Linked DNA regions of Homo sapiens: region 1 is linked to region 2. Evidence: promoter capture Hi-C in human tissues and cell types (Jung and others, 2019). All regions are on one chromosome and are shown on one strand. The core of a region is centred on a gene start or on the middle of the fragment in contact, and the rest is flanking DNA. Distances in the headings are between cores, read along the strand shown. Region 1 overlaps MATR3 (matrin 3). Region 2 holds the start of EGR1 (early growth response 1).

Region 1 (3,367 bases), core at 864-3,363, 850 kb after region 2:
ACCATTGTTTTTAATATTCTGTTAAAGAGTATTACCAGTCACTCCCTTTCCTTGTGTTTGGATCTCAGTATTTTTGTCTTTTAATCTTTAATCTGTACCAAAGTAAATTAACATAAATGCTAAATTTAGGTTTATTTAAACATTTAAGAAGATGTATTTTCATTAAGAAATACAACCCCAGACTCACAAAAGCCAGCAAATTTTAATTGGTATATGTTTTGGGTGTTACCTTTTCCTAAATTTGTTGGCTCTACTAAATATATCATGGAATTCATTTTAGTTTCTGATCAGCACTAAACTTTAAATTTTAGGTCCCGTGTGAATTCATAGAATGAAAAGGTCCATTAAACACTGGTGACTCCAATTTTTTCTGCGTTATTTCTTGCCTGTTTATAAGGAAATAATAGCAGAAATGTCAGTATGACCAATATTCTCAGAAAGGGTCTCTAAATTCTGAGGAAAATAGATAGTTACAAGTGTCTCAAATGAGAGTGATGTGAAGGGACTTAAAAAATCTTCGCTACTGGAGTCATTAAGCTGTTGGGACATCATGAACACAATGGAACCATGAGAGGACTTCGAGAAAAGTTTCTGTTTTTATGTATGATTATGCTTTTTTCCTTCAAATTTTGCTACTTTCTAGTTCCTGAAGAAGGCTAATAACTTAAATGGATCTAAATTAACAAAAGAGCAGTTTTTACATATTTTGATGAAACTATGGATTCAAGAGTAAGATACACTACCCTAGTGCAAGAGGTACTTTTAGCCTGTAAAAATGCTTAGGTCCTAGCTAGTTTTGGTATTCTGTCAAAATACTGAGTACATTTGAGAACTATTTTAGAGGCCTTTTGTTTAATTCTGTGGTTTAAATGTGTAAATTGGACCAACTTTAAGAAGTTTAAACACATGGATTATCTGAATTTCTAGTTTTCTAGTTGCTTTACTATGTTTTTTACGTATATGCATTATATTGAAAAAATCTTTACTCACTTTAGCAGTGGACCCTCTATAACCGCTATAGAAATGACCTTAGAGAAAATTTCTGTGATGGAAGTAGATAATGAAAAATTTTTAAACATTTAATCCTGCTCTCTGGTATTGCTGCATAACTTGGAAAATCTGTTCTTTTTACTTAGTGGTATTGTTAAATAGTCTACATGATCAAAAATTCTTACTGTGAAGTAAGAAACTTAAGTTGAAAATAATTTGTCATGGAGTGTCATTATTTTTAGGTGACTTAAAGTGATGGTGGTGTTTTTATTTCTTTATAGGTCATTTTAGGTCATCAAATTGCTTTTCTTTTCTTTTCTTTTTTTCTTTTTTTTTTTGAGACGGAGTTTCACTTTTGTTGCCCAGGCTGTAATGAGTGCAATGGTGCGATCTCGGCTCACCGCAACCTCCGCCTCCCAGGTTCAAGCAATTCTCCTGCTTCAGCCTTCCGAGTAGCTGGGATTACAGGCATGCGCCACCACGCCCAGCTAATTTTATATTTTTAGAGCCAGGGTTTCTCCATGTTGGTCAGGCTGGTCTTGAACTCCTGACCTCAGGTGATTCACTGCCTTGGCCTCCCAAAGTCCTGGGATTACAGGTGTGAGCCATCGCACCCAGTCATCAGATTGCTTTTCTATGCAATCTCAAGCTTTCTCAGCTTCCTTTCACTTAAAGAAAATTACCCACTACAGCACTTTGGCTGTCTTGTCACTTGAGTTTATATTAAGTTATACTTTTTTCTGCCATTCTGTAAGTGCTTCCCAAATTCTTTTTTTTCTCTCTATAAGGTATCTCAGATACATCAAGGTGAATGTAGTTTTCCTACAGAAATGTCTGAATTTAAAAAGTGCACGAATCCTTTATTAATCTGATTTTACAGGAGTTACCTCAGTGTAGAGTCCAGGGATATATATTTTTATAAAACTCTTTCACTTAGTCCCCACCGTAAACCAACCAGTAATAGATCAGTAGTACAGATTAGTCATTGGATGAGTTTGGGAGGTATGTGATTGATTTTTTGATCTTGGCCTTCCTTTTTTCACTTTGAAAGACCAGACACACTTTTCCCCTAAGTTTGAACCTTTAAACAACGTGGAGGATTGGATATAATTTCTGTTCAGCTATGTACCCTTTCTAGCTCCTATGAAATAGAAGCATGCGTAGTAGGATAACATTTATTTCTCTCCCACAACTTAAGAATATTTTAAGTAAAATCTGAATATTTTTAGTTCAGAGAATTGTAAGTCGTTAATTGGTATTTGTTTAATTAATCCTTTTTTTTTTTTTTTTTTTTTTTTTTTTTTTTTTTGAGAAGGTTTCTCGCTCTGTGTCCCAGGCTGGAGTACAGTGGCGTGATCTTGGCTCACTGCATCCTCTGCCTTTCGGGTTCAAGCAATTCTCCTGCCTCAGCATCCCAGGTAGCTGGGATTACAGGCATACATCACCATGCCCAGCTAATTTTTTTGTATTTTTAGTAGAGACGGGTTTCACCATGTTAGCCAGGCTGGTCTCTAACTCCTGGCCTCAGGTGATCCGCCTGCCCCGGCCTCCCAAAGTGCTGGGATTACAAGTATGAGCCACCACGCCCAGCCAAGGCTTCTAAATTTTGTGAACTTACCTGTGGCTCCTCTGACTTAGAGCCATTTTTATTTTATTTTATTTTGTTTTATGTTTTTGAGAAAGGGTCTTTTGCTTTGTAGCCCACGCTGAAGTGCGCTTAGGTGTTCGCAGCTCATTGCACTCTCTACCACCCAGGCTCAAGTGACGCATGTACCACCACCACATCTGGCGTTTTTTTCTTGATAGAGATCGGGTTTCACTGTGTTGCCCAGGCTGGTCTCAAACTCCTGGGCTCAAGTAATCTGCCTGCTTTGGCCTCCCAGAGTGCTGGGATCGTATGCGTGAGCCACTGCACCCGGCCCTTACAAGCCATTTTAAAACTGGTCCCCAAGAAGGCAGTGGTCCATTACTTTCCAGTTGAAACTTTAGATATCCCAAATAGCTGATGATTAGAGAGCCAGCTGGAGAGATCTTGAGTTCCTTAGCTATTAGCCATTATTTTAAAAAGATAATCTAGCTTTGAGAGACCTGGAAATAGTAGTTTATAGCTTCCAACATTTTAAGGAAGGTACCATTCTATTTGGATGAGTTCCATTTTAGTTTACAGGATTTTATTTTTATTTATTTATTTATTTTTGAGACAGTTTCACTCTTGCCCAGACTGGAGTGCAATGGTGTGATCTTGGCTCACTGCAACCTCTGCCTCCCAGGTTCAAGCTATTCTCCTGCCTTAGCCTCCCAAGTAGCTGGAATTACAGGCACCTGCCACCATGCCTGGCTAATTTTTGTATTTTTAATAAAGACAGCGTTTCACCAT
Region 2 (3,475 bases), core at 828-3,327:
TTGGCTAAGGTACCCTACCAGGGAGTGGCAAAATGGACATTCAGACACAAGGCCATCTGCGCTGCAACAGCCTGGCCTTCCTGCCCTTGCGGCAGGAGTCCTCTGAGAGGCGCATCACTCCTGCCCCAATGGACAACTCGGTAGACAGTGGGAGTGAGCCCCCCACCTCCCCAGCGGACTTGAGACGGCAGGCTCCGAGACGAGGGAGTCCTGGTTCATTAAGTTGGTTTTTATAAGAAAACATGTTTGGAGGGGGGACAGCCACAGAGGGATTAAGTCCAAGAAAGTTACACCCTCCCCCACCTAATCCCCCTGACCCCGACCTCCAGAGGCTGTTGGGGTTCACAGAGGCCCTCACCTCCTCCCTTCCCTCTCGGTGTCGTCAAGCACCCTCCTTCCCCACATTCTCTTTCTGCTTTCTTTTTAAATCCAGAAAAAACAGCACCTCCTCTGGATTCAGAGCTAGAGCAGGAGGAGCCTTCCCTTCCCGGAATCCCTGTTCCCTTTGGGGTGAGCAACTGACTGCGTCGTGGGGGCGGGGAGGGCTTCCCTGTTCGCGTTCGGCCCCAGGGAGACCTGCGGGAATCGTTCTCCCTCGCCACCACCCACCCCCTGCTTCCTTCTCCCCCTCGCCTTGGCCAGGCTCGGGGTGAGGAGTGTTATCCCGGAGTCTGGGCGCCTCGGCAGTGACGGCTCCCCAGGGACTGCAGGGGGAGCCCGGGCTGCAGCGCCTGCTCAGTTCGTGCTCACTGCGTCGAAGGCTCCCCCGGCCTGGCTCCGCGCCCAGCGCCGCATCCGGGAGGAGGAGCGAGGAGGCGGCGGAAGAGCCCGCGCGGCCGGAGTCCGGGGCTGGGAGTGGAGAGGGAACCTCCAGGGGGCAGCACCGAGCCGCCAAGCCGGTCCTCTCTTCGCGCCCAGCCCGGGGTCCCCAGACAGCCCATAGGGAAGCCCCTCTTTCGGATTCCCGCAGTGTGGGCCGGCCCTCCACCTGGACTGGATAAAGGGGGGAAAGTGACCCCTCACCACAAGGACCATTATCTCCTGGTGAGAACAAGAATCAGGCCTCTCTTGGGGCAATCAGCTTCCCCACTTCGGTCCCCCAAAGGTGGGCTCTTTGCCGGCGGGGACTAGGGAACAGCCTTTCGGTTCCGGGGGAGCACAGGGGACCCCAGGCACCAGCAGCCCCATCCCACCGACAGGTGGCAGAGGCAAGGCAGCTCACTGCTATACAGTGTCCCAAGAACCAAGTGGCCGTGACTTCCTATCCTCAATTTCCCAGCGACACCCGGAAAGACACCGTGCCATAGATCGAGGCCCGGGGTCAAGGCCCCGCCTCTCCTGGGCGGCCCCTGCCCAGGCGGGCCCAGCCGCTCCTCCCCCGCACTCCCGGTTCGCTCTCACGGTCCCTGAGGTGGGCGGGCGGGCCCTGGATGACAGCGATAGAACCCCGGCCCGACTCGCCCTCGCCCCCGCTCTGGGTCTGGGCTTCCCCAGCCTAGTTCACGCCTAGGAGCCGCCTGAGCAGCCGCGCGCCCAGCGCCACACGCCACGAGCCCTCCCCGCCTGGGCGTCCCCGGATCCCGCGAGCGCTCGGGCTCCCGGCTTGGAACCAGGGAGGAGGGAGGGAGCGAGGGAGCAACCAGCTGCGACCCGGAAATGCCATATAAGGAGCAGGAAGGATCCCCCGCCGGAACAACCCTTATTTGGGCAGCACCTTATTTGGAGTGGCCCGATATGGCCCGGCCGCTTCCGGCTCTGGGAGGAGGGAAGAAGGCGGAGGGAGGGGCAACGCGGGAACTCCGGAGCTGCGCGGGTCCCGGAGGCCCCGGCGGCGGCTAGAGCTCTAGGCTTCCCCGAAGCCTGGGCGCCTGGGATGCGGGCGCGGGCGCGGGCCCTAGGGTGCAGGATGGAGGTGCCGGGCGCTGTCGGATGGGGGGCTTCACGTCACTCCGGGTCCTCCCGGCCGGTCCTGCCATATTAGGGCTTCCTGCTTCCCATATATGGCCATGTACGTCACGACGGAGGCGGACCCGTGCCGTTCCAGACCCTTCAAATAGAGGCGGATCCGGGGAGTCGCGAGAGATCCCAGCGCGCAGAACTTGGGGAGCCGCCGCCGCCATCCGCCGCCGCAGCCAGCTTCCGCCGCCGCAGGACCGGCCCCTGCCCCAGCCTCCGCAGCCGCGGCGCGTCCACGCCCGCCCGCGCCCAGGGCGAGTCGGGGTCGCCGCCTGCACGCTTCTCAGTGTTCCCCGCGCCCCGCATGTAACCCGGCCAGGCCCCCGCAACTGTGTCCCCTGCAGCTCCAGCCCCGGGCTGCACCCCCCCGCCCCGACACCAGCTCTCCAGCCTGCTCGTCCAGGATGGCCGCGGCCAAGGCCGAGATGCAGCTGATGTCCCCGCTGCAGATCTCTGACCCGTTCGGATCCTTTCCTCACTCGCCCACCATGGACAACTACCCTAAGCTGGAGGAGATGATGCTGCTGAGCAACGGGGCTCCCCAGTTCCTCGGCGCCGCCGGGGCCCCAGAGGGCAGCGGCAGCAACAGCAGCAGCAGCAGCAGCGGGGGCGGTGGAGGCGGCGGGGGCGGCAGCAACAGCAGCAGCAGCAGCAGCACCTTCAACCCTCAGGCGGACACGGGCGAGCAGCCCTACGAGCACCTGACCGCAGGTAAGCAGTGGCCTACGCCGAGGGGGAACCCTTTCGCCACCATCCTGGCGTCCTGTCCTTCACCGCAGGAGTGCTCCTGGATCTTAGAATGAGAGCCGGGTTTCCCTTTCATTCCTCGCATCCCCAGAGTCATGTGTTAGAGGGATGCCAAGGAACCCCACACAGCCCACCCCCTGCCCTCATCCCTAGCGGAGCGCAGAGGACCGAGCTTTTGTTTTGGATGGAGAGCTCTGGAGCTGCGTGGGTGGGTGGAGGGGGAGGGCTTGTTTTGATGAGCGGGGCTGCGCCCCCCACCTCCAGTAAGACTTGCCTTGCCTTGCTTGCCGCCTGTCCCCAAGGAAGGACCGTGATCCTTGGCCGTGGATGTCCCGGCAGCCCGGGTTTGGGGGCGCGCACTAGCCGCGGCCATGGGGGTGCTGGCGGGAATCCCTCGCCCGCACAGCCGCCGCTGCGGAGCGCTGCGAGCTGCAGTGGAGGGGGATTCTCCGTATTTGCGTCAGCTGTTGTTGAAATGGGCTCTGCCACTGGTGCGGGTCCAGGAACATTGCAATGTGCTGCTATCAATTATTAACTACCTCGGGAGTCAATGGTAGCCGGCCCGGTCTCTTGCCTGGCAGCTCGGGTCGTCCTCGTCCTCCAGTGATTGCTTTCCAGTAACCAGGCCTCCCGCTTCTCTCTCTCCTGCCAGAGTCTTTTCCTGACATCTCTCTGAACAACGAGAAGGTGCTGGTGGAGACCAGTTACCCCAGCCAAACCACTCGACTGCCCCCCATCACCTATACTGGCCGCTTTTCCCTGGAGCCTGCAC

Evidence for each region. The method cuts DNA at HindIII sites, captures the fragments that hold promoters and counts their contacts. A contact is called where the count stands out against the background at its distance.
Region 1: a contact is called between a fragment that was not itself captured here and the fragment with the promoter of EGR1 in region 2, in 1 of the 25 tissues and cell types used here (dorsolateral prefrontal cortex).

Annotation. Positions count from the first base shown.
Region 1 is chr5:139,309,487-139,312,853 of GRCh38, forward strand. The region is part of intron 2 of MATR3 (matrin 3); the gene reads left to right. Among named protein-coding and RNA genes, the nearest start is that of MATR3, 17 kb to the left of the region's middle. The HindIII fragment of the contact is 5,043 bases long and covers 1-3,367 here.
Region 2 is chr5:138,463,402-138,466,876 of GRCh38, forward strand. EGR1 (early growth response 1) reads left to right here and starts at 2,078. Exons shown (of 2, transcript NM_001964.3): 1 at 2,078-2,667; 2 at 3,356-3,475. The coding sequence starts at 2,361. RefSeq lists silencers at 682-951, 1,272-1,671, 1,682-2,031, 2,122-2,331 and enhancers at 864-2,063, 1,136-1,976, 1,977-2,816. The HindIII fragment of the contact is 10,830 bases long and covers 1-3,475 here.